Linked DNA regions of Homo sapiens: all the other regions are linked to region 4. Evidence: promoter capture Hi-C in 16 types of primary human blood cells and fetal thymus (Javierre and others, 2016). All regions are on one chromosome and are shown on one strand. The core of a region is centred on a gene start or on the middle of the fragment in contact, and the rest is flanking DNA. Distances in the headings are between cores, read along the strand shown. Region 1 overlaps SH3KBP1 (SH3 domain containing kinase binding protein 1). Region 2 overlaps SH3KBP1 (SH3 domain containing kinase binding protein 1). Region 3 overlaps MAP7D2 (MAP7 domain containing 2). Region 4 holds the start of SH3KBP1 (SH3 domain containing kinase binding protein 1). Region 5 overlaps MAP7D2 (MAP7 domain containing 2). Region 6 has its middle 3.1 kb from the start of MAP7D2. Region 7 overlaps SH3KBP1 (SH3 domain containing kinase binding protein 1).

What was found. Contacts are between HindIII fragments. The CHiCAGO score rates a contact against its expected background, and 5 or more counts as called.
Region 1: a contact is called between a fragment that was not itself captured here and the fragment with the promoter of SH3KBP1 in region 4, in 16 of 17 cell types (activated CD4 T cells, total CD8 T cells, non-activated CD4 T cells and 13 more). The highest score is 21.5, in activated CD4 T cells.
Region 2: a fragment that was not itself captured here is called in contact with the fragment with the promoter of SH3KBP1 in region 4 in 13 of 17 cell types (activated CD4 T cells, naive CD8 T cells, total CD8 T cells and 10 more); the score reaches 12.1 in activated CD4 T cells.
Region 3: a fragment that was not itself captured here is called in contact with the fragment with the promoter of SH3KBP1 in region 4 in 4 of 17 cell types (total B cells, megakaryocytes, non-activated CD4 T cells and 1 more); the score reaches 6.1 in total B cells.
Region 5: a contact is called between a fragment that was not itself captured here and the fragment with the promoter of SH3KBP1 in region 4, in 9 of 17 cell types (total B cells, naive B cells, total CD8 T cells and 6 more). The highest score is 8.3, in total B cells.
Region 6: a fragment that was not itself captured here is called in contact with the fragment with the promoter of SH3KBP1 in region 4 in 13 of 17 cell types (activated CD4 T cells, total CD8 T cells, naive CD8 T cells and 10 more); the score reaches 8.5 in activated CD4 T cells.
Region 7: a contact is called between a fragment that was not itself captured here and the fragment with the promoter of SH3KBP1 in region 4, in 14 of 17 cell types (activated CD4 T cells, naive CD8 T cells, total CD8 T cells and 11 more). The highest score is 15.9, in activated CD4 T cells.

What each region holds. Positions count from the first base shown.
Region 1 is chrX:19,698,345-19,702,021 of GRCh38, reverse strand. All of the region lies in intron 4 of SH3KBP1 (SH3 domain containing kinase binding protein 1), which reads left to right. Among named protein-coding and RNA genes, the nearest start is that of MAP3K15, 180 kb to the right of the region's middle. The HindIII fragment of the contact is 1,106 bases long and covers 1,674-2,779 here.
Region 2 is chrX:19,643,892-19,647,655 of GRCh38, reverse strand. SH3KBP1 (SH3 domain containing kinase binding protein 1) reads left to right here. Exons shown (of 18, transcript NM_031892.3): 7 at 2,181-2,256. It overlaps LOC124905255 (a long non-coding RNA gene), which reads right to left. Exons shown (of 2, transcript XR_007068406.1): 2 at 2,896-3,764. Among named protein-coding and RNA genes, the nearest start is that of MAP3K15, 130 kb to the right of the region's middle. The HindIII fragment of the contact is 3,181 bases long and covers 698-3,764 here.
Region 3 is chrX:20,090,694-20,094,381 of GRCh38, reverse strand. The region is part of intron 1 of MAP7D2 (MAP7 domain containing 2); the gene reads left to right. Among named protein-coding and RNA genes, the nearest start is that of MAP7D2, 24 kb to the left of the region's middle. The HindIII fragment of the contact is 193 bases long and covers 2,205-2,397 here.
Region 4 is chrX:19,886,225-19,889,780 of GRCh38, reverse strand. It overlaps SH3KBP1 (SH3 domain containing kinase binding protein 1), which reads left to right and starts at 2,181. Exons shown (of 18, transcript NM_031892.3): 1 at 2,181-2,474. The coding sequence starts at 2,471. RefSeq lists silencers at 1,730-2,029, 2,090-2,159, 2,640-2,779. The HindIII fragment of the contact is 9,463 bases long and covers 1-3,556 here.
Region 5 is chrX:20,070,667-20,074,163 of GRCh38, reverse strand. The region is part of intron 1 of MAP7D2 (MAP7 domain containing 2); the gene reads left to right. Among named protein-coding and RNA genes, the nearest start is that of MAP7D2, 44 kb to the left of the region's middle. The HindIII fragment of the contact is 895 bases long and covers 1,724-2,618 here.
Region 6 is chrX:20,117,991-20,121,977 of GRCh38, reverse strand. No RefSeq gene overlaps it. Among named protein-coding and RNA genes, the nearest start is that of MAP7D2, 3.1 kb to the right of the region's middle. The HindIII fragment of the contact is 978 bases long and covers 1,772-2,749 here.
Region 7 is chrX:19,717,264-19,721,162 of GRCh38, reverse strand. All of the region lies in intron 3 of SH3KBP1 (SH3 domain containing kinase binding protein 1), which reads left to right. Among named protein-coding and RNA genes, the nearest start is that of SH3KBP1, 170 kb to the left of the region's middle. The HindIII fragment of the contact is 4,751 bases long and covers 1-3,803 here.

The DNA of each region.
Region 1 (3,677 bases), core at 977-3,476, 190 kb after region 4:
ATGTGCAGAGATGGTAAAACATTCATATTAAGGAGAAGGAAGCCGTGTTTAGAAGAGAAAGTTGATTAGATTTGAATCATCAGCATGCAAAACAGGCTGCAATCATATAAAAGTAGCATATTTGCAAGTTTAAAGGTATTTATAATAGATTTGCATAGCTGTGGGATTTATCAAATATTTCAGTGCTTACACTCTGAGAGAAACTGTGTTTATTGAGATTTGGGGATTGATTGAACAGAACCTGTCCCTTGAAACATGCTCAGTCTAGTGAGGGAGGGCAAGATATACACAGCTAAGGTAACTATCAACCCAAGATGTTACCAGAGTGGCAAATGATGGCATTGACGAACGAGAGAGGAATTTAAAAATAGGAGTAGTCACAGAGGGTGAAGAAGATGCTTTGTAGAATAGGTGAGGTTTCAACTGAAGATGCAGATGGTGAGTGGTATTTGTGTTAGGTGCTGGAGGAAGGAGGACATGGTGTTAGTAGAGCCTTGCTCTGCATTAGGGGAGGACCTGTGAAACTTTGGGACCTCCCCTAATGCAGACCTCCCCTAATACTTTAGGTGTAGAGTATAGAAAGCAGGTGCTGGTGGATGCAATGAAATGGGGTTGAGATCAAAGTTATAGTGCTGGCCACACTGAACTTTCAAAGGAGCGCCTGTTTAAAGATTCCTAATCTGGAGGTTTCCCAGGTGAACATATCCCCATAACCATTTTCTCACCTGGAAATAGCAATGGGAGAAAACTTGAGGATCTTGATTCATCAGAAAGGTTATCTTGCTGGCTTGTGTTACCATTTGTTCATATTTTTTAATTGGAATGATAGAAAGACCTTAGTATTGGACTCACTTAGGAATTTGGGGACCTGTGGCTGTTTTTGAAGGACAGGATTATCAAGCACTGCTGAAGGAAGTTTCCGAAAGCTCTACCAGAAACCCTTTCCACTCTGATGAAAAATCATGGATGTTGCTCTGTCTTGTTGGGCAGTTGGCCTAAGTCTTAAATAGAAATTGTATATGTTTTCTTAAATGACTTCCCTTCCAATTACTCTACAGATTTCTCTTCGAGGGCCGCCTCTCATGTAGAATAGCCTTGTTCTCAGAAGAGTGAGGGGAGGGAATGAAAATCAGCTTCCCTATGTGAATGGAATGTTCTGGCCCAGCCAGAAAGAGGTAATCATACAATGAACTACACAAGAATTAGGGGAAAATATTGGTCCAGCCATTTAGGACCTAGATAATGCTTGTTTATATTTGGCATAGCCAGCTTTCCCACATCCTCTGAGATTGAAAATAGTGTAGGTGTTTATGCCTTCAGGAAATGCCCCCCTTAAAGATATATTTTTTTTTCACCAGTTCTACTGATAGAAAAACATGTTTACCAGAAATAATTTGTATTATTTTCAGCGATATTTAAAAAGTTAAATTATGTCTCAGCACATTTATATGAAGTTCTAGAAGAAGTAAAATGAATCAAAGGTGATAGAAATCAGATTAATGATTGCTTGGAGGTGGATTGACTAGGAAGGGGCACAGGGAACTTTCTGGAGTGATGGAAATGCTTTTTATGTTAATAGAGGTGTTGGCTACAATGGGCGTTTGTCAAAACTAATCAGCTTGTATTGTTAAGTTCTGCATTTATGTAAATTATACTTCAATTTTAAAAAAGCTTTAAAAGCTGTCTTAACATTTTTTTAGCGTTTTAAAAATTCTCAAAACACCTTTCCCAAGTAAGAGAAAGGAACAGTATTACAATTTTCATTTAGTTACTCCTGAAAAAAAAATTTGAGGAAAATTTTAGCAGCTTTAAGGTGTGGGCCTTTCCTTAGACTTTGATGTGTCACTTTTCTTTTATGGGAAGAATGGTAAAACAACTCTTGAAACAATGAAGCTGACTTCGTTTGTCTGGGTGCATCCCCCTAACCCCAGGCTTCCCTCAAACCCACCCCTCCAGTGTGCTTCTGACTGGGGTTTGGGTATCAAAGTATTCACTGGATGAAAAAAAGCTATAGTCATCCTTAGATGAACTTTTTCTGTCTTGCTACTTGTGCCCTTGGGTAGACTGTAGACCTGATAAAGCCTCCATACCCCTTCTCAGTCCAGTTGACAGGTAAAACTTCAGGGGTGATAAATAGGAACTGGCCTGAATAGCCAAGCACTCACAGGGAGCACGCCATCTTTTCAGTCACAGACTTCCTCTTTAGTGCCTTACAAATGGGGTGCAAGAAGGGGTGGGGATGGGAGTATTGAAGTTCACCCAGGTGTTTGCCCAATCTCCAACAGGGTTAAGATTTAAAAACTACTTCCTTGGACCCTGAACCCACTTAGATGCTGTTGATTGTAAAGACATGAAAATTGCAAGGCCCTCAGATAGAAACTGTTGAAGTGGTTTTATTCCATCGTTCTCAAACGCTACCAGGTGTAAGCTGCTCTGCTCCCAGCTCTGGGCCAAAGGTGAGATTCACTCTTGGGGCACGGTGAAATTGTATCTTAGCACATTTATGTGAAGTTCTAGAAGAGGCAAAACTAATCAAAGGGCTCCAGAGCTGACTGGGTTGGTCGTAGAGGGACACAGGTGGGATTTGTTCTCAGCCTAGAGCCAAGGCCTGCAGAAGACTGTTTATGAGTGGGGAACGGCATCTGCCCCCTTTTATTATTGTCCTTTCCTTGGGGTGGAAGTTATAAGCCCTTGGTGTGGTATTCGTAATCCCTACTTTGTTACAAAGAGACGCATTTCTTTCTTTTCTTAACTATAGAAATGCAAACATAAGCAAGCTTGATTTCCAAGCAGGGGCTGTTCAGGCTCTGTAACTGCCTCTCTCTTGTTGGAAACTTCTCAAGGATGGAGTCTTTATCTGTTTTGTTCAGCAGTGAATCTGTCCCCAGGTACTGGGGCAGTGCAAGATAGGTGCTTACTAAATATTGGTGGAATTGGGAGGACCACACAGTCCTGGGTGTGGCAGTACCTAGTTAAGAACAGTGGCAAATATAGTTAGGATCTCTCAGTTCCTTTTGCTCCTCACAGGAAGGAAACCTTTTTCTGTGGGGGAAATCAGGGCTCTTTAGGCCCCCATGGAGGATTTTTCCCAATAATGTCTCTGCCATTCATTCATTCATTCATTCATTCATTCATTCAATGTGTGAGGCACTGTGCTTTACTCTTAGAATGAGTGAATGAATGAATGAATGAAATCACATGGCAGTGTCCGTGTCCTCGTCTTTACACAGGAAGTTGAACTAGAATATCTCTGAAGAGGGATAGTGTGAGGTATCATTTTTCTCTTATCTCCAGCCTCAGTCTCGAGACCAAAACAGCTGGCCTGGCTATAGAAGGAAATAGTACTGAACGACTCTCACTGGTACTGGGGCCACCCCCACCACCCCCATGAAGGGCTCCAGCTCACAGAAAAATGAGCATCGTGCCCATGGTGCACCTGTGATGGGAAGTGTGTCCCCAGGCGATGAGCAGTGGTTTTATTGTCTGCCCCTCCACTTACTGCGTGGTTAATGATAGGCCTCTGCCATTTTCCCATAGGCCACTCTTCTCAGACTGTGCTGTGACAGTGATACTGGCATCTGAGGGTGTGGTGAGGTGAAGATACGTCTGTTTTCCCAGCAGACAGCCTGCTTTTCCTACACATCAGGAAGGCTTCCCTCAGGGATCTTGGGCAGGAG
Region 2 (3,764 bases), core at 1,039-3,538, 240 kb after region 4:
GCCCATGAAGGAGAAGGGAAGATTTAAGGCCAGCACTTCCCAGAAGATGAGGATAATACCAGCTTCACCATCACCCCTGTCGCTGGGATCCATGCAGAGGCCAGTGTGCTGTGTTTTCTGAAATAGGAAGGAAACAAACCACAGTGAGCCTTACTTTTTTGTGTCCTTCTGTACCAAAGTAAGTGCATTGAATTGGTGGCCTTGCTTGATGTCTGGTAGCTTGGAAGTTTTGGTAAGCCAGGATATCAAAGATGATGGGCAATACTTTCTTCTGTTACTAAAGAAGGGGAAGTTGTAAAAATGTGCAACCTGTTGAAGGTCTCTCTAAACCTGTTGGTTTAATGCCCAAACCGTTACATGTGTCCTTTTTTTTTTTTTTCAGGGAAGCAAACAAAGTCAGGAGTAGGGACAGTGTTTACTATTGCCTTTCCTGAATTCTTTGTTCAGTGATACCAGAAGCACTGGTTGTTTTTGTTTTCCTCTTCCTAATGTGTTAACAATGGTGATGCTTTATTCCAGCCCCACAAAGGGAAAAACAAATATGTTGGCAGGGATGCTGCTAGAAGTGTGAACAGGAATGTGAATGAAATGAACACTTTGAGAGCTGCTATTTTTACTATCGGTACCTGATTTTTCAAAATAATTCTAAGAACAGTTTTTCATCAAATTTGACCTGATGCCAGAATAACATCAAGCTTTTTTCATCCCTGATGTTCCCCTGGAATCATCAAATGTTATTAGTTTGAGTACTTAGCGGCAGTTTAGAGGTGGCATATTATTTTGGTTTCCATTTTTTATCCAATACAGAAGGCCCTGCGGCACTAAATAAAAATGTCACCGTGTAAGACGTAAAGGCTTTCTGTCACAAATGTTTTTAAAAATTCATGAAGGGCTGAGGATTTGATTTATCTTATCCTCTTTCTGTGATTTATTCATATTTAATGTTGGGTTCAACGTTTGAAGCATGAATAACTTTTTCAAATTAAAAACTGTGGTGAATCAGTTTTTTTTGAAGAAAAATTCTACCATGCCAGTTTTTGAATTATGCAGTTCATTCCTCTTCATGTGTTCAAGGGCCAGAGATGTTTGATTTTCCCAGTGGCTGGAATTCTCACTGGCAAAACCCTTCATTGTTGCAGGAGAGGTTGATTTCCCCAGCTACGTGGTCGTGACAGCTGTTGCCCTGGTATCAATAGACATTTTCCCTCAGGCATCAATCATGATCACACACGTGTGGTAGCAAAGGGGAAGAGTGGGAACAGACCTCGCCTTGGGAACCAATGGATCTGTATATTTCTTTCTATTTTTGAGCTGCTGAGTTGCCTGTGTTTTTAGGAACATCTTTAGGCAGAGATAAGATCCAGTCTTCTCTATGGACAGTTCATAAATAATGTTAATAGAATTAGCCGCAAATGAAGGAAAGGAAATGAACTCAAAACAAACTCATAATCTTTCTTTTTTTGAACTAGTCAGTGGAAGCATAGGGTCTGAGGCGCTGGATTTTTTCTAAGCCCTTGGAGGCTTAAAAGACTATAAGGAAAAGAGCTGCTTGGTGGACTCATTTTTGCCTTTGTGGCAGGCAGGTAGATCTGTTTAGAGGACATGAGAGTATCTCCCCTTTCTCTGGGAGGCAGGTGGAATTCTAGATGGCTAGACAGAGATGCAATAGGGTACACTGTCCTGGACATCCTGACTTCTGCCTGCCCATCCACCTGCCTGCCCGTCCTGCCCTCCTGGGCCTCCATTCCTGTATCCCTTCCTTTTGATTTCTTCCCTCCTACTTCCATTTTTCCAGCCTGCAGTGACTTTTGAGCATCTCCGTTGGGCCAGCTATTGTACCTCCATAGACTGAGTCAGCTTCTCATAAACTGAGGGGAACTATGCCTGTTTTCTTTGCTAAAAATAGTCAACCTTTTATAAGAGTATAAAGGAAGAAAGAGAATAAACGCTACTAAGTGCCTACAAGGATAAAGCCCTTTTTACCTATTTTTCTCCCTTGTTTGTCATTGAGGATGAAACCTATTAAAGGGGGGCAGCCAGTATACAGAGCAGGGCATAAACCAAAGAATGTGGCTTTTTAAACCAATTTCGAGCATTTTGTCATTATGATCTGGATCTTATTCCTTTGCTTAATGGAGACAATCATCTTGATAAGTAAAATCATCTGTTTTTCCCCTCAGACTATTGGGAAGAAGTTACCTGCAACTACAGCAACTCCAGACTCATCAAAAACAGAAATGGACAGCAGGACAAAGAGTGAGTTTCCTTAGTTATCTGTTTCACATTTAAAAGCATTTAAGGATTTCCCAATAACAGAAATGTTTTTTAGAAATCCCTATATAACCTTGATAGCTTTTGCAAACGCATCAGAAAAATGTACACAATTGTATTTCATTCAATTCCCCACCATTAGGGTGGGCACAGGTTAGATTCAGAACTCCTGTTTTTGTTTTTTTCTTTCCCCTTATTACAGAACGTGGTTCTCTCCTGCTATATGTATCTCACTCGTATGAAGAGCTAGGGTTTATCCATATATAACAAGCACTTTGCACAGTTAAGGTGGCTGAAAGATTTTAGAGAGTGGCAAATTAAGCGCTTTAGGGATTCACGAGCCCTCAGGTCGGAGAGGCCTAACCACTTGAACTTGACCAATTTTACTTACCCTTGACTTCCCACTGGTATCTTCAACACATCTCTGCTTGAATATCTCCAGATACCACTGCATGTCTGCAGGCAGGAGGCTCAAGTCTTTTTGGAAGGATTAGGCTAATGAATGGGAGGGGTTAACTGTGTTTTAGAACAGTGCTAGCCAATAGAAATATCATGTGTGAGCCACATATGTAATTCTAAATTTTCTAGTAGCCATGTTTAAAAAAAAAGGAAAAACAATTGGACTTAATTTTAATGTATTTTTATTTAACTCAATATATCCAAATATTATCGCCACATGTTATCTACGTAAAATTATTAAATGAGATACTTTCATTGCTCTCTTCATGTGAAGTCTTCACAATCCCATATGTATTTCATAGGCATAGTATACCTCAATTTGGAGTAGCTACATTTCAAGCACTCAATAGTCATGTGTGCCTAGTGGCAACCATATTGGAAAGTGTAGTTTTATTTTTTAAAATATTTTCTTTTTAAAACAATGTTGTGGGTACATAGTAAGTGTATATATTTATGGGGTACATGAGATGTTTTGATACAGGCATGCAATGTGAAATAAGCACATCATGGAGAATGGGGTATCTATCCCCTCAAGCATTTATCCATTGAGTTACAAACAATCCAGTTACACTCTTTATTTTAAAATGTACAATTAAGTTATTATTGACCATAGTCACTCTCTTGTGCTATCAAATACTAGGTCTCATTCATTCTTACTATTTTTTGTACCCATTAACCATCCCTCCTACCCCCCAGCCCCCAACTACCCTTCCCAGCCTCTGGTAACTGTCTGCCTACTCCCTGTGGACAGTATAGTTTTAGAGTAATTCTGGGGTCCAAGAGGGGCTTCCTGGGCTTGAAAATGAACACAGTTCCAAATGCTCAGCTTGCCTAAGCATGTGGGAGAATCCTGGCTCCAGCCCAAGCCTTGTTCAGTCCTAAAAGCGTCTATTAACTACATCCACATACCTGGCCCTCTAGGAACAGCATGGTGGGGGATGGGTTACTCAAAAGAGTGGGTTTATAGGAAGCCCATATTCTAGGACCAGCTCTGTTATTAGCTAGCCATGTGAACTTGGGCAAGTCATTTTATT
Region 3 (3,688 bases), core at 1,052-3,551, 200 kb before region 4:
TGCTACCTGACATATTTTCAGCTACTCGTGAGGCCTTGTTTTATGGAACGGGATGTTGAAGAACCTCACAAATGGGTCAGACTCCCCAGCAATGCTCTGGAAGCCTGCTTCTATAGGAGCAGACAGGTGTTCATGTGCTATAAGCTTTGTCACATGCCCTTCCCTAGCAGGGAACTACTTCTGTTCCTTCTCTGGTTCTGGTCCTAAATTCTGAAGCTACTTGCATTTCCAAACATAAAGCAAGTTGTTTATAATAAATGCCTTAAATATTTGATTTTCAGATTCATATTGCTCTGCTTTGGAACAAGGAATACAACTCCTCTGCTTTTGTTATTACAAGCCATTTATACATATACCAGGGTGCTCTGGTTTTCACTTGTTCTCATCCTTTAGTTGTGGTTTTAATATTTTGTGCTTTGGACATGGTTTTATTGTGGTTTTCAGATACATGGCCAGTTTTCTTTTCTTTCTTTTTTTAATACGTCATACAATTCACCCCTTTAAAGCGTTCAGTTCAGTGGATTTAGCATATTAAGTCATGCAACCATCACCACAATCAATTCCAGAATATTTTCATCACCACAAAAAGAAATCCCTTACTTGTTTTACCCCAACCCCCTGCCCTAGGCCACCCAACTACTAATCTCAGTCTCTATAGATTTTTGACCAGCGTTCTTGCATTCTTGTTTAATGGTTATTTTTTATTTTTATTTTTATTTTTTTTTGAGATGGAGTCTCACTCTGTCACCCAGGCTGGAGTGCAGTGGCGCGATCATGGCTCGCTACAACCTCTGCCTCCCGGGTTCAAGCGATTCTCCTGCCTCAGCCTCCTGAGTAGCTCCGACTACAGGTGCGTGCCACCACGCCAAACTAATTTTTGTATTTTTAGTAGAGACGGGGTTTCACCATGTTGACCAGGCTTGTCTTGGACTCCTGACCTCAGGTAGTCCTTCTGCCTCAGCCTCCCAAAGTGCTGGGATTACAGGCGTGAGCCACCGCGCCCAGGCTAATGGTGACTTTCTTCCTCTCTAAATTATAATATAAGCCACCACCCTTTTTTCCGTCTCTGTTCCATTTTTGTCTTTTCCCCTTCCCTCCCTCCCCTCTTCTGATATTAGCAGGTTAGCTCTAAATTCTCCTTAATTAGCTCCCAAACCGGATGAATTGGTGGATGTGGCACAACTGCAGGAATTCATCCAACAAACCAGGGATGGACAAATAGTGTGTTTGAGCCCTCGAACACCCTTCCAAGTCATCTGCCTTCATTCTGTCACTATGAGGCCAGCCTTCTTTTCACTGGCTGGGAGGCTGTGGGAACTGCGAGCTAGGCCAGCAAGAGAGAACTGGGTGGAAGCTGGTCTCAGATTGATCAGTCACACAGCCTGGGGAGCAATGAACTGAGATTTCAGTGTGTGGCCCATGTGAGTGAGTACTGGGACAGAAATCAAATGCTTGCCTTACAAATGTAGTGTCCAGATGTATAAATTCAGCCACTGGATCCTCCTATCAACAGAAACATTTAATAGTCAAATTACAGTTTCAAAATCAGTTTACAAATTACAGTCTGAAAATATCAGTATTTAACTTGAGAAGCACTGTTACTCGTACCTGGTACAGAGTCAGAACTCAGTGAAACTTCCCCTTTGCCCTCTGAAGTTTTGCTGAAAAGTGAACTCACAAAAGACAGATTAATTAGAGAAAAGGCATACACATTTTATTCACGTTTATACAGGGAGAACCATGAGTGACTACCTACCTCCAACAGGGTTCAGAGGCTTTATATACCATCCTGGCAAAATAAGTTATAAGACGGGGGAAGAAGAGGAATTCTGTTGAGAGGATCACTAGGGAGAATAAGTGGACAAGATAACTTGTATACTATCTTGTGAACGGGTCTTTCAGGTGTGGTTACATTCCTGGTCTTACAAGGAGGGGAAGAAAAAAATAAATGTTCCTTTTGGTGGGTCTGGACTTTAGGCACATAAAGGAACTTCAACTTCGTCCTGCTTTGGGAGAGACATTGGTAGGGGGAGGAGGGGGAAGGTCAGAGAGACCTTGAGGCTTCTTCAGTTCAGTACGTCAAAGTGCCATATTTTGGGATATCTGCTTCTGAGCCCCAACACTGTTATTAAGAGGCCATATTTTATTGTAAGCCTACTGTATACAAGGCACAGGTTAGGTTTTGTGAAAAATAAGCCAAAGCTTCTTGAATGGAATTCAAGCCCTATTTATGTTATAATGTGCAGGAGTTTAGCAGGTTAACACTGGGGAAGCAGAGACTTGGTAGCATCCACATTTTGCTTGTTTCTTTAGAACCATATATTTTATTAAATAAATTTTTATAAAACAATGTGTTAACTGTAGATACCCTCAACACAGGAAAGGTTTGGTTAAGCTTAGATTCTTGCTGGGAATTGTAGATATTATAATTTCTTGTGGATAATTTAAAAAATTTATCATTTACTATTGGCCACTGGTAGCTTTATTCAAGGCAAACCATCTTGCTCAAAACAAATAACCTTGACCAAAAAGGTAGCCAGGATCCTATTTAGTCTATCTACAGATTGTTTTTGGTTAAAAAGACATCAGTGTTTGTTCCATGCCATATATGTATCTCCTGTTTCATTACATCTCCGTATTGCTGGGAATGAAACGAGTACCAGCAGGCCCTTGCTGTGGAATTTTCTGAGCGAGGTCAGAGAGAAGCACAGTGTACTTTTAGAACAAGATCTGTCCTGCCTTTTTTTGTATTCTGGAGTACACTTGGGGAGAAATAGAGTAAGCTGCTGTTTGGGGAAGAAGTTTGGGCTTTTGATTTATTTTGAAGGAGTTTAAGAAATGCTACCACCATGCCTGGCTAATTTTTGTATTTTTAGTTGAGAAGAGATTTCACCATGTTGGCCAGGCTGGTCTTGAACTTATGACCTCAGGTGATCCACCCATCTCGGCCTCCCAAAGTGCTGGGATTACAGGCGTGAGCCACCACACCCAGCCAATACTAGTTTTTTTTATTGCTAAAGAGTGTTCTGGGCCGGGCACGGTGGCTCACTCCTACAATCCCAGCACTTTGGGAGGCAGAGACAGGTGGATCACCTGAAGTCAGGAGTTTGAGACCAGCCTGGCCAACATGGTGAAACCCCATCTCTAGTAAAAATACAAAAATTAGCTGGGCATGGTGGTGGCCGCCTGTAATCCCAGCTACTCTGGAGGCTGAGGCAGGAGAATCGCTTGAACCTGGGAGGTGGAGGTTGTAGTGAGCTGAGATCGCGCCACTGCACTCCAGCCTGGGCAACAAGAGCAAGACTCCATTTCCAAAAAAAAAAAAAAAAGAGTGTTCCACTCACAGTGAATATACCACAGTGTTTTTGCTCCATTGCTGTTTTATCCATTCTTTCTTTCTTTTTTTTTTGTCTAAGATGAGGTCTCACTCTGTCACCCAGACTGGAGTGCCGTGGCTCTACCTGGGCTCATTGTAATCTTCGCCTCCCAGGCTCAAGCAGTCCCACCTCAGCCTTCTGAGTAGCTGGGACCATAGTCACGTGCCACCATGCCTGGCTAAGTTTTATCCATTCTCTTGCTGATGGATAGTTGGACTATTTCCGGCTTTGAGCAATAATGGATAAAGATGCTGTGAACATGCATGTGCAAACCACCTTGTGGTCCTGTGTTTGCTTTATTTCTCTTGGGT
Region 4 (3,556 bases), core at 932-3,431:
ACATTTCACATTCTTTTTTTTTTTTTTTTTTTTTGAGACGGAGTTTTTCGCTCTGTCGTCCAGGCTGGAGTATAGTGGCGCCATCTAGGCTCACTGCAACCTCCACCTCCCAGGTTCAAACAATTCTTGTGCCTCAGCCTCCCACGGAGTTAGGACTAAGGCATGCACCACCACGCCTGGCTAATTTTTGTATTTTTAGTAGAGAGAGGGGCTCGCCATGTTGGTCAGCCTGGTCTTGAACTCCTGACCTCAGGTGATCCGCCCACCTCGGCCTCTCAAGGTGCTGGGTTTACAGGCGTGAGCCACCGTGCCTGGCCCACTTCACATTCTTTTCTTTTCTTTTTTTCTGAGACGGAGTCTCGCTCTGTCGCCCAGTCTGGAGTGCAGTGGCACGATCTTGGCTCACTGCAAGCTCCACCTCCCGGGTTCACACCATTCTCTTGCCTCAGCCTCCGGAGTAGCTGGGACTACAGGCGCCCGTCACAACACCCAGCTAATTTTTTGTATTTTTTAGTAGAGACCGGGTTTCACCATGTTAGCCAGGATGGTCTCGATCTCCTGACCTCGTGATCCGCCCGCCTCGGCCTCCCAAAGTGCTGGGATTACAGGCGTGAGCCACCGCGCCCGGCCTTCACATTCTTAATCTCCGTGTTCTCTGATCCCTTTTTTAGGAGTCTGATATTGATGACACTAGGACTTCAATTGCAGCCTCTGTGTGGATGGGCCTCTTGTCCCTTGATTAGTCTCCTATTTCGATCGGTTTGACACACATGAACGGTATTTAGAAAGATGATGCTACTGATCTCTTGTTTGTAAGACCCTGACTTTGAGGTTTTTTGAAAAACTCATGAAACAGTTATAAGAACAATTTTCTACAGAAATCCCAGGACGGTAACCAATTTACAAGAGTTGCCCCGCCAACACAGGTGAGGTATGGAGACAGCCCCTCTCTTGGGTAGGGGGTCGGCTTTCATTTGTCCCTTTTGAGTCCACTAGCCCTCAGCCTCCTCCATTTCCAGGGGCCACTGATGTAATTTCTCTATTGTCTTACGTGCTCTTTGCCTAAATGTCTCCCATGTAGTTCACTATCGCTTCCTACCACCAGATGGTGGAAAGGGAAAAGGAAATAACGGGCCGGTAGAGGAATGTGGTGGCAGGCAGAGTATCTATGGCGAAAGGTGTGGTGGTGAATGGACCCAAAACGGAGCTTCTGAATTGCCCACGAATGCCCACGGATTCCCTGTTAACATTTTAGCGCCCACTCAAGGGTCGGCCGTCCAGGTCTGGGAGTCAGTAAGGCACAATAATGCCTGCTAGGGAGGGAGCCAGCCCTCATCTCAGCGGATTCCTGGGAACGTCAGAGCTCGGGAACATTCCTGAACACCCGAACCGCACCTGGCCCAGGCACTGGGGCGGGGCTTAGGCGGGTCCCAGCGAGGCGATGCGTCCCCTCGGCCCCGCTGCGTCCTTCGCCCGTTTTTCCCCACGTCAGTGCCACCGCCTCCTCTGTGCGGAACTCGCACCTGGCCTGCCTGCGTTCCCACGCCCCACCGAAGGGACGCCGCGTTTCTCTCCCTTCCAAGGGACCCTTTTCCTTCCCCTCCAACAGCCCCCCGGGAAAACTCATTCCAGATTGCCTCGATGCCCCAGGGCCACCTGCCATCACCCTGGTCAGGCGTTTGGCCCCGGGCCTGCCCTGGTCTCCATCCCCAGCCCGTCCTCCACCTCTTGTCGCCCCCTCCCGCTCAGCCCCCTTCTCCTCCTTCTCCACGTGCCCCTGCACTCCCACGCCCCTCCCCCAAGAAGCCCCTCTCCTCCGGTCTCGAGGAGTCTCGCGGCACTTCCCGGGGCGTCAGCCCAGCCGCTGCGGGTGGGTGGCAGCCGCGCGGAGAGGGGTGCCTCTGGCGCGGGCGGTGAGGAGGGCGCCCAAGCCCCTCAGCCGCAGGGACGCCCCCGGCGCCTGCCCCGACGCGGCCCCGGCCCCGGCCCCGCCCCTCTCCGGCCCCGCCCCCGCCCGGCGGCCGCGCGTCCCCGGCAGGCGGAGCTGCAGGAGCCTCGCGGCAGCGCTGAGGAGGAGGGGAGAGCGGGCGGCGCGGCCGCGGCTGCCGGGCGCTGGGCTGGGCGGCGCTGTTTTTTTTTTTTTTTTTTTTTTTTTTTTTTTTTTTTTTTTTTTTTTTTTCGCAATTTCCACTCGCGGGGAGCAGGAAACCCGGCGCAGCCGGGCGCATTGGGCCGCGATGCAACAGCAGCAGCAGGAGTCGCCCCGGGGCAGCAGCGGCAGCAGCAGCAGAGGCAGCAGCGGGCGGCGCTGAGCCGCCGCCGCCGCCACTGAGGAAGAAGCCGGCCCAGCCGCCGCCGCGTCCGGACCCTCGCGCCTGGATCCCAGCGCCCCGATCCCGGCGCCCCAACCCCCACGCCCGCCTCCGCCAACTTTCACGCTGCCTCGGCGGCCCGGCCCGGCTCGACGCCAATGGGTGAGTGGGGGCCGCCCGCGTCCGGGCGTCCACTTCAGCCTTGAGGGCGGCGCGCCAGTCCCAGAACCGCGGAGCCCGGGAGGGCGCCCCGGGGGCAGGGTCCGGACGGGGGACACCGCGGTGGGCGCCCTCGCCTGCCTCGCGCACCCCCATTCACTCCCACTTGCGCCCGTGTGCCCGCCGAGCCCGCGCGCGGCGCCGACGGGAACCCGCGGGGGCCTGAGCAGACGATCACGGGGGCTGGCCCCGGGCGGCTCGGGCTGAGGGATGCAGGGGGTGTGGTTGGTTTTTCGGGTGGGCGGGGAGAGTTTTGTCTTGGCCATTTTTGCACCCGAGCGCGCCCTCCTCTGCGCTGCGGACACGGGCACCCGGACCTGGTGGGCTCCGGCCCTGCGCGGGGCTGCTGGTGTCTTCCTGGTCCTGTCTCGGGGGAAGCTGGAACCTCGGGGTCTTGGAGGGGGCTGGGTTGCCTTTGCTGGGGGTTGACAGGGGTTGGGGGGTGGGGCGGGAAACGCCCCAGTTCCTGGTCTGGCTCGCAGTCCCGGGGTCCAGAGCACCTGACGCTCCTCTCCTTGCGCCCCCCTTCCTCCCGGCCCCGACCCTTTCGCTGCTGCCTTCCTCCAGCCTGGCGAGCTCTCTGCTCCGTGATGCTAAAAGGCCACTTCCCATACTGTCCTTTAAGTCTTCAGGGTCTGGGACCTGGAAATGGTGATCCGGTCTTTGATTTACTGAGTAAACATCAGTTCGAAGTAGCCAACTAACCTTTGAACCCCCTGGGTCCCATTTGATTTAGACCCCGGAGCATTGGAACCACCTTGCTGCCCAGAGAAGCTGCCACTTTATTGGCAAGGCACTTATGATTACTTGGGCTATTAAATGTTTGGTCTACCCAGGTAATGTTCTTGCTGACAGCCAGCTTCTGTTTTTCAGCCTCTGGCAGATTATTTTTGGATGTTCCTAGGCCAGGCATAGGAAGGCTGCAGATAATAATAAATCATAATAAAGTGAGACCTTTCTGTGTTCAGGTAATAGGATTCCAGTACACTAGTCAGGATGTTCAGAAAGCCTGAAGGATTGGAAAA
Region 5 (3,497 bases), core at 922-3,421, 180 kb before region 4:
TCCATTTCTTTCTTTTTTTTTTTTTTTTGAGACGGAGTTTCACTCTCGTTGCCCAGGCTGGAGTGCAATGGCGCAGTCATGGCTCACCGCAGCCTCCGCCTCCCAGATTCAAGTGATTCTCCTGCCTCAGCCTCCCAAGTAGCTGGGATTACAGGCATGTGCCACCATGCCCGGCTAATTTTTCTATTTTTAGTAGATGGGGTTTCTCCATGTTGGTCAGGTTGGTCTCGAACTCCAGACCTCAGGTGATCCGCCCGCCTCGGCCTCTCAAAGTGCTGGGATTACAGGCGTGAGCCACCGCGCCCGGCCGGTGGGTTATTTTCTAGATTAAAGAAATGGGCCGGGTGCAGTGGCTCACGCCTGTAATCCCAGCACTTTAGGAGGCTGAGGCAGGCGGATCACGAGGTCAGGAGATCGAGACTATCCTGGCTAACACGGTGAAACCCCATCTCTACTAAAACAAAAAATTAGCCAGGCGTGGTGGCGGGCATCTGTAGTCCCAGCTACTCAGGAGGCTGAGGCAGGAGAATGGTGTGAACCTGGGAGGTGGAGCTTGCAGTAAGCCAAGATTGTGCCACTGCACTCCAGCCTGGGTGACAGAGCGAGACTCCATCTCAAAAAAAAAAAAAAAGAAAAGAAAAGAACCCCTCTAAAAATAATGGCCAGCAACATTTAATGAGCATTTATTATACGGGAAGTTCTTCCCACACATTTCATGTAACCATCACAGCAGCTGTTTATCACAACACATTTATCATTTATTGGCAGTTTTTTTCATCCCCTTTTAAAAATAAACACTCATTTTTCTTCCAACTTGCTAACATTTATTTTTGCTCCCCAGTTTTACAAAGTATAATTAATAACAAAGCTGTTGGGATTGTGTGACAAAGATACTTTATAGAAATATATATGATTTTTACATACTCACATGTACCACATAGGTTTGCCTTTGGAACCAGATATATCATCTAGATATTTGGGATGAAAAGGAAAAACAGGCAACCTAGAAGATTTGGGAGAAGGCCGCAGATAAGATCAACTAGGCTCTGGATTTTAAGCCTTGTTGTGGAACACTCCCTGATGTGGTTTTTGGTATTTTGCTTTTTTTGGGGTGGGGGGGAGCACTACAAATTCTTTTATTGCAATATAATTTACTAATAATAACATTAATCATTTTGAAGTGTAATCTGGTGGCATTTTGTACATTCGCAATGTTGTGAAACTGTCACCACTGCCTAAAATACCATCACATTTTCATCACTCCCAAAAGAAATCTTGAACCCATTAGTAGTGTTTCACAATGTCTCCCATCCCCTTCATTCCTTTTTTATGGCTGAACATTATTTCATTGTATGGATGTATAACGCCATATTATATTTATCCAGTGTGATGGTTAATTTTTAGTGTCAACTTGACTGGATTGGGGAATACCTAGAGAGCTGGTAAAGCATTATTTTTGTGTGTGTCTGTGAGAGTGTTTTCAGAGGAAATTGGTGTGTGAGTCTGAGTGGACTAGGTGGGGGAAGATCCACCCTCAACGTGGGTGGGATCCTCCAATCCCCTGGAGGCCAAGACAGAACAAAAACTGAGGTGCTCAGTATATGTTACTGCTTCCCCTTCATGAACTTGACATTTCTTGAGTGCTTACTGTGCACAAAACACTGTGCTAGGCCCTTTGGGGGCTACAAGAAGAAATGGAACATAGCCCTGCCCTTAAGAAGCTTGTATCCTGATGGATGGACTGGAAAGGGAGGGTTGGCGAGAGAGGGCATCGGGAGGGTAGAGTTTCCTGTGCCTGAGGGTGGTGAATGAGAGAGGGAAGGACCCGAATGTGAAGTAAAGAGGAAAAAGGTCTGTGAGAATCAGAGCACTGATGGAATTCAATGGAAAGATTAATCTGTGTGTGTGTTGGGGGTGGGGCTATGGGGAGCAGCTCATGGAGTGCCTTCCTTTCTTTACCCTTGTATTCCTCCCACAACTCTAGCAGAAAAATGGGTACAAAGATGCCTTAAAATGTTGGTTGTTTTTATAGACACTTCTGGTATGAGGTTAAAATATTCTGCAAATTGGGAGGTTTCCATCAATGGGACATAATATTCGTGGCCCTTTGATTCAGCAACTTTTTGAGTCCCTCCCAGTCTTTAGGGTGCCAGAGATTCAGAGATAAGACAAGAGTTTAGAGGACAAGGGTCAAATGAAAAGACCCAAAGCCTGGCAGGGTGGTGCACACCTGTAATCACAGCGACTGGAGAGGCTGAGGCAGGAGGATTGCTTGAGGCCAGGAGTTAAAGATCAACCAGGGGCAGCATAGTAAGACCCAGTCCCCCTGCCCCTGCCTTCCACCTCCACGGAAAACAAAACAAAACAAAACAAAACAAACAGACCTAGACAGTAGCATGTAGGACAGTAACAACCTTGGCAAAGGTAAACACTGTGGAGGAATGTGGCAGGTGATCAGTCATTCCTTCTGCAGACTGTTTTGGGGCTCACTCTGCTGAGCTCTGTCATACAGAGAGTAGCCACAGGGAGGGCCCTGCCCTGTAGAATCACCATAATCTAGAACACTGGTTCTCAAGGTGTGGGCCCTGGACCAGTAGTGTCAGCCTCACCTGGAAGCTTGTTAGAAAGGCAGATTCTCTGGCTCACCCCAGACTTACTCCATCAGAAGTTCTGGAGGTGATGTCCAGCAGTCATTTTCACAAGCCCTCCAGGTGGTTCTGATGCATGCTCAAGTGTGGTGAGCAGTGGGCTAGGACAGTTGTCAGGTCTGGATGCACATTAGAATCACACGCGGGGCTTTTAAAGCAACAGTGCCTAAACCACACCTAAGACTGACTAGATCAGAATCTGAAGGGAGACCCAGGCATCTATATTTTTGAAAGCTCTCCAGGTGATTCCATTGTATAGCCAAAGTTGAGAAGCGGTGGTCTCCACATGCTTAAACAGATCATCACAGTGCAACCAAGAGTGACCATTAAGGTGGGAAACAGTGCCTGTGAGTCCACAGAGCAGAGGATGCCTGGCAACCCCTTGAAGGGATCAGGATGGCTCCCCAGAGGAGGTGAGGACCCTTCATTGTATTTCCTATTGGATGAGCTCTTCATTCCTCCTTCCCTTTTTTTCTGGACATTGCAGTTGCACAAATCTGAGTGTGATCGGAAAGGTTATTTTAAAATTCATTTAATGTGATTAATTTTTCAAAGTTGAACACAGCTGGCTTCCCTTTAAAACTTTGTATTTTGATAGTGGTTCTTACCATGAATAATTGACTAATATCAGGTCATTAATATTCTATAGGAGAGTACTTCAAGCTAATAAAATTCATTTTAAAATTAGTTTTTAAAAATGTGTTCCTGCAGCCCAGGGATAGTAGGATCTCAGTCAAGTATGAGATTTTATGCTTTTCTGTTAACATAAGATAGTTGTTTGACTGCTCAGTATCCCTGTTTTATTCCAATTTTTTTGTAGGAATTAATTGCCCAGGAAAAGACCTCTGT
Region 6 (3,987 bases), core at 1,011-3,510, 230 kb before region 4:
AATGTGTCCTAGTAAGTTTTGGTTAAAGCATATGAAGAAAATCTGGCCTCAGAGGTATGTAGTTGGAAAAGGAAGATTTTAATAGTCTTTTCAGATACTTGTATGTTCTTTGATACTACACACAATCTTGACAAGAGGTGATTTCTTAAGTTGCACTGTGGAATCTAACACCAAATCAACAAACGTTTCATACTGTTACATTATAATTCATTGGTCTATTTTGAACTATGAATGGACTTTGTAACTTCACACACCTGGAAAACTTGGAAAAAACTGACAGAGGTATGATCTTCCATATGTTGACCCTTTTCATTCTACAGTATTAAGATGCCACATTTCATTAATGTCACTGTCTCTTCAGAAAAGTTCTTACTTTAGTGAAGTTGTCAAGCTAATGGTAGCAGATACTAGTTTTGTAAAACTTTTTTCATGCTGGAAAGCCCAAATTTTATCACCACCAACAAATATGGTCACTTGTTTCCCTTGAAGTGTCAGGCTAATTTTATTCGTTTTTGCAAAAATGTTGAACACAAATCCAAGTTTGAATTACCAGCTTATCAGCTTTTCTTTCAAGTAAAAATGATATTTCATGAAAGTGTCCAGTTGTTTGGAATACAAATTATCACAAATGCTTTTCCTTGAGACAACTGCTGTACATTGGTATGCAGAAGAGGTTTGTGTAGTATTCCCCACTTTGTCACATGAAATATTGAAAAGATGTGTACTCAAAGGTTAGGATGTACCAGTGTATGAGATTAATCTCTTCAGGTTAATAAATTTTTATTGCATTGTCAGAGACACTAACTTTTTTTTTGAGATGGAGTCTCCGTTGCCCAGGCTGGAGTGCAATAGTGCAATCTCAGCTCACTGACCTCTGCCTCCCGGGTTCAAGCGATTCTCATGTCTCAGCTTCCCAAGTAGCTGGGATTACAGGCATGCGCCACCACACCTGGCCAATTTTTATATTTTTAGTATGGTTTCACCATGTTGGCTAGGCCGGTCTGGAACTCCTGACCTCAAGTGATCTACTCGCCTCCACCTCCCAAAGTGTTGGGATTACAGATGTAAGCTACTGCACTCAGCCATTTATTTATTCATTCATTTATTTATTTATTTAGAGACAGGATCTTGCTCTGTTGCCCAGGGTGAGTGCAGTGACGCCATATCACAGCTCACTACAGCATCAACCTCCCTGGCTCAAGTGATCCTCCTACCTCAGCCTCCCAAGTAGTGGGGACTACAGGTGCACCACCAAGCCCGAATGTTTTGTTTTTATTTTTTAGAGATGGGGGTCCCACAGTTTTGTCCAGGCTGGTCTCTAACACCTGGATGCAAGTGCTTCTCCCACCTTGGCTTCCCAAAGTGCTGATATTACAGGTGTAAGACACTATGCCCGGCCAAAAACCTCTTTTTTGAGACAGGGTTTTGCTCTTGTTGCCCAGGCTGGGGTGCAATGGCGCGATCTTGGCTCACCGCAACCTCGGCCTCCTGGGTTCAAGTGATTCTCCTGCCTCAGCCTCCTGAGTAGCTGTGATTACAGGCATGCGCCAGCACACCCGGCTAATTTTGTATCTTTAGTAGAGATGGGGTTTCCCCATATTGGTCAGGCTGGTCTCAACTCCCGACCACAGGTGATCTGGCCGCCTCAGCCTCTCAAAGTGCTGGGACTACAGGGGTGAGCCACTGCGCCCGGCCATGCTATAGATTTTTATAGGAAGTTAGTGTAGTGGGAAAAGCACGGAAAACTCGAAAGTCATTTTTTTTAAAAGCTTAAATAGAAATTACACTATTGGATATTCTGTCATAATGTCGAAAATGTCAATTTTCTCCAAATTAACCTCTGACTTCAATATAATTACATTTAGTATTACAGCAGGCCTTGGTGGGAGATTGCAAAAACATCCTAAAATATATTCATGTGGAAATACTGAATTTCAAAGAATTCTAGAAACACTGCTAAGAGGGAATTCAACAAATAAATTGCACCCTAAGCCATAGTAGTGAATAATAGATGCAGTAACAGGAAGATCAGAATAGATAGCTCAGAAGCTATCTCACCTACTATGGAAATTAGGTACTTGATTTTTTAAAAAGTGGCTTCAAAAATTACTGGGGAAAGGATAGGTAAGCAGGTAGTGCTGACCAAACTACACTTCGGAGAGAAAAGTGGATTTGGCTCTTTACCTCACCCTATACAGAAAAATTGCTTAAGAGTAAAGCATTTTTTACTTTTTTTTTTTTTTTTTTTTTTTTTTACGTTTTTTACTATAAGCATGAGGGCAATGGGGAGTATCTTGGGACTAGGGAAGTTCGTATTAAGACTTCTTAAAATGCAAACCATAAGGTGAAAAATTTATGGATTTTATCACTTCGTAATCATTATGAGATCAGATCAAGCAAGAACCATCAATGGATGCTAAATCTAGAGAGAATTTTTGACGAAGAGTAAGTACCTGCATAGCCTTAAGGTGCCTCACCACAGTGCATTTTGCAAGAGGAAAACTACCTCTAAGGTGGAGGAACAGCCAATGGAGAGAAAATTACTGTATCCATGTGAAACTTAAGTTGGTAGTCAACTCTAGTATGTGTAACAGAACATTCATAATCTTAGGAAATACACATGGAAGTATTTGTAATGTAACTTTCAAAAACAGTTGATAAAAAATAGGGCAATATTGTAAATGGAGTAAACATGTTAATAGGATTTTGTCATAAAAATTAAGGAAAATTTTACCAATCTTAAAAAGCTTAGTTGGCTAGGATAAAATATTTGCAACATTTAAACCAGAAATTATCTAGAATACAAGAAACTCCTGGAAATCAACCAGAGTAGCCCAGTGGAAAGGTGGGCAAGGATTGAACAGGGAATTTACAGAAGGGTAAACCAGATAGAATGGCTAATCATTTTGTGTAGATTGAGAACAATGCCAAGAGAGGAAAAACAAATAGAATGATAGCTTTTATGCAGTGTCATTTATATACAATTAAAATACATGCGTATCTTCAAAACAGTATTTCAAAATTGCAGCTGCAAAGATATCAGAGGAGGTGTTTATAATTAGGGAGAGGAATGGAAAGTAAAAGGACCCCAAAAATAGAATAAAAGTAGAGAGGGATGCTACACACACATGTCCATGAGCTCAAGAGTTGGATGAATTGAACTCACCAAAGGTCCCTAAGATAAGGGAGGAGAAAGTGACAGCTCCCACGCTCTTAATTTGGCTTAATCTCAATGTGTTCGAGTTTTCATTACAGCTCAGGGTACCAGCCCCCACCTGCTCACTTTCCTACTCATTTATGTTTAAACTTCCTGGCTTTCTCACCACACTTGAACCCTACTCCCGGCACACCTTTGGGCGTGTCAGGAACACGTTCATCACAAACATTTTTTGTGCCACAAAGGGACTTTCCCAGCTTTGGCCAAGAGTACAGGTGCCCATTCCTGAGAGTTTCAGCTTCACATTAAAAAAAAAAAAATGAGACATAATTAAGGGACCATAAAATTCACCCGCTTAAAATGTACAATTCAATAGTTTTTAGTATACTTAGTTGTGCACTCATCATAATCCTAGAATATTTTCATCCAAAAAAGAAAACCTGTACCCATTATTCAGCTTCATTTTTAATCGTGTATATCTCCCCCCAGGAGTGGTAATAAAACTTTCAGGCTGGTCACCTTCCAACGAGAAAAAACATGCAGCCTGGGGCTCCATGGGAACGGGTTATCACTTGGCAGGCCTGGGTAAACAAAAGGCTTGAGCCGGCCCTGCCAAGATGTCTTTTTCAATGTTTTTGAAAAGATAATAAATGTGCATGGCAGTGGTAAAAGTGCCTACTTAGGAGGCAACCCGTTTAGCAGTTTCTTGTGTGTCTTCTCGGAGAGATCCTCCTCAGAGGTTTTTTGTTTTATTTTGCTTTTGAGACAAGGTCTCTGTCGCCCAGGCTGGAGTGCAGTGGCGTGATCACTGCAGTCTCGACCTCCCGGGC
Region 7 (3,899 bases), core at 179-2,678, 170 kb after region 4:
AACTCCCATTTGCATCAAGAAAATTCAGAAATACCTAGGCTTCCTCCCCTCTTTATTCTGATGGGGATGAGAAGGGAAACTATATTAAAAATGAGTCAAAATTTAAAAATATTATGACTACCTGCAATGAAGATCTCCCCCTACCCCCAAAAGAGAGGGTACATGTGGAATTCTTTGACACTTTCTAAATCTCCGAGCACAGTGGCCATTTTTGGTACTGATTTTAAAAACTGGGAAACCCTAGATTTGTTTATGGTGTGTATCTCCCACCCCCACAACCCACACACACATACCTCCCAGTAATTCTCTAAGATTAGGCAAGACAGAAGTATCCCAGATGAAGGTCTTTAGGATTTTCTAGACCTTTGTTACAGTTCTTCAAATGTTTGTGTCTTTTTTTCTCCTCTCCTACCCCTCATTCCCTCATCTTTTCCCCCTCCCTGCCCATTCTACCTTTAACTGTAAAAGTTAGGTGTCTGATATATTCATTTGTCAGCAGCAAAGTTTGAGAATGCCTTTAAAAATAGATATGTTAGAGGGAGTATGTTGGATAGAAAGGAGAAATCTTGTTTATGCTCAATAAATAACTTACATTTAGAACCTTCCTTCAATTTTTCCTTTGAAATTCTGTATTCTCATTTCACTTGAATGACTCTGCATGGAGCGTTTAAAAGTAGATCAAACAAAACCCTATAAATATGTTGAGTTCTTTTGGGCATTTTGCCAAAATTAGCCTTGCAGGGAAAAGCAGTGTGCTTTACGTATTGGATTTTCTCCTCTGAAAATCCAGACTCCCTCTCCTCTGGAGAGCTAGCTGCCAGGGCTGGGGGAAAGTCAAGCCAGGGACACATTAGGGAAGTGTCCCTGGTATGGCCTGCTGAGGTTGGGTTATTTGGATTGAGGGTTGTGCTGAAAGGCCAAAACCAATGCCTGGGACCAGCCTGAAGAAAGATGAAAAGCAGAGGGACGTTTAGAGACGTCACTGATTTTATGTTATGACGTGATTCCTTTATCTCACTCTGATTGGAAGGGAAGGCTGGTGAAAAAAACATTAACAGAGCTGTCTTTTAACAGATTCCTGAATGTAAAGCCAAATGGAAAAAAGGGAGAGAGTCAGGTGGAAGTAAGCCCCTTGGAAAGTAGGTCTGTCTCCATCATCCCAATTTTATACGTGAGAAAACCGAGGCAGAGAGCCACGCAGGGGTTGCAATGCTGGGTGAGTTGGGCCGTTTGTCTCTTCTGTATTGTTAACTCAGGGTTCTCTATTATTATTATTATTATTGTTATTATTATTATTATTATTATTATTATTAGTTAGAGGTGGGGTCTCACTATGTTGCCCAAGCTGGTCTTGAACTCCTGGGCTCAAGTGATCCTCCTGCCTCAGCCTCCCAAAGTGCTAGGATTACAGGTGTGAGCCACCATGCCTGGCCCCAGGGTTCTCTTTTATGTGCTTTAATGCTTTAAGTGAAGACCACGTATCCATGAGCAGTGAAATCAGAGCCCCTGCACCCTTTCACATGGCTAATTCACATATCATTTTTATAAGATATAGTTGAGGTGGAGGATGTTGAGTTCTTCATGCTCATGGCACCAAAATTACAGATGTGGCTTCTAAAGAAATATCAGATGACAATGTTAATGTTAAAATATACATATACAGCTCCTCTTTGCAGAAACTCAGTTTATTCAATGGATGGCCCCTTTGACTATTACGTTGGAAGTAGAAACTTGATTTGGGGGGGTCAGATGTTAATTGCCCAAATTTAAGACAGTTTTCAGTGACTTCTTTAAATGAGGCATTAGACTCTGAAGTTCATAGGGCTGAGGAGGGCCTGGATCGGGGATTTTCTAGATATATGGCACCTGGGGTCCACATAGGGATCTAGAGTGGTGCAGTGGCATCGCCCTAACCATCATGAGGCAGATGTGAGTGAGTCGAATTGGTTGATACAGATGTGCGTGAAAGAGCTGAGAGGTGTCAGGGTTGAAAAGATGGAGACAGACAGCAACCGACACTCACAGATAACAAAAACACAATGGAAGGAGGACAGTGCTAGAGAAAAGCAATGGTTGTTAGGAGAACCCAGAGAAGGGGCCCCCACGGCTGAATGAATGAGTATGTATGTGTGTGTGTATGTATGTGTTCCCATGAGTGAGGGGCGAGCTCGGAAGATGGACACCACAGGGCCCCTCCACCTAGTGAGAGATGGCTGTCTGGGCTGTGTAGGCTGGTGGTGTCTGGCCAGGGAAGATAACCTTGGCTTGGTCACTGATGGAATAGTATGGGCCTCCTCAGGGTTCTGTAACAGCATCTGATCAGAATAATGACTAATGTGGGCTACAGATGTGGAGCCCTGTCTCTGAGCTCACACCTCCTGCTGTGTTCGTAGACCAGCCACAACCAGTTGTCATTGGGAGGTCCGAGGCCCCTTGTCATTCAGCCCCATGAAAAGCACCTTTCTTGCTGATTGAATTGATATTTATTTCTTTCAAAACACCAACTCACTTTACCATTAATGTAATCAAAGTGTGATCAGAAAGGTAAGTTTCATAATGCAAGGTAATTATTTTAATAGGTGACTGTGATGTTTTTAAAAAGTGATTACAGTATATTACGTGCTCTTTGTGAAGACAAATTGATATTGTAGAAGCATTTAAATGAGTTTCTACCCTTCCCCCAATCTGCCTCCCCTGAAGTATCACTGTTACTTTGGGGTATAGCCTTCCATACCATTTTCTGTGCTTACACAAGTGTGTCCGTGTACATATACCCCCTTTCTCTCATTCATTTGTATCTTTTTTTGAGACAGTCTCTTACTCTGTTGCCCTCATTCATTTAATTGTATTAGACCTTCATAAATTAGTTGAATGTTGAATGGATTCATTTATTTATTAATGAACATTTGTTGAATGTATACTCTGTGCTAGGTTCCGAGTTATCAGGAGTAACTAAAATGCTACATGCTGCTTAGAGTTATGAGTGTGTGTGTGTGTGTGTGTGTGTGTGTGTGTGTGTGTGTATTTATAAAATTGGGATCATAGTATACATATTACGTGATTTAGTCTTTTAGTGTACTATGGACACCTTTTCACACTGATACACGTAGAGCTACTTGTTATATTTAATGGCTGCTGGATATACCTTCCCCTCCCAGTAGACATCCAGGTTTCACATGTAGATCTCTGTGCATATATGCATTTGCTATTAGAAACAATGCTGCCCTGAACCTTCTTATACATATATCTTTGCCTACTTAAACCAAATGTTTTCTGTCTTTTAAGGGGACCGAATATAAAATCAAACATACGTCATTTCTTGTTCATATATAGCCCTGCTCTACGGTTTAGTAAAGTTAATTCACAGGGGGCCATACGTTTGTAAGAGGAAAGCAGTTAGAGGCATAGATTAGCATTATTTAGTATTACAGATGCTTCAGACTACAAAGTTGATGGAGAATGAGTTGGTCAATTAATTGACCAACTTCGACACACCAACAAGACTGCAGGGTCTACCATCTTTCCATCCCTATAGCATCAACAATTCCAGATGGCATTGACTTTTGTTTGTTTGGTATATATATATTTTTGTTTTGAGACAGAGTCTCACTCCGTTGCCCAGGCTGAAGTGCAGTGGCACAATCATGGCTCACTGCAGCCTTGACCTCCTGGGCTCAAGCAGTCTTCCTGCCTCAACCTTTCAAGTAACTGGCACTGCAGGTGTGTGCCACCATGCCTGGCTAATTTTTTAATTTTGTGTAGAGACTGGGTCTTGCTGCCCTGTTTAATACCATGTTGAAGCTTTAACTCCCTTTCCCTCCACCTTTCAGGATGTGGAATTCATTAGTTCATTCATTTGTCGAGAATGGATTGAGTGTCTACTCAAACAGACACTGAGC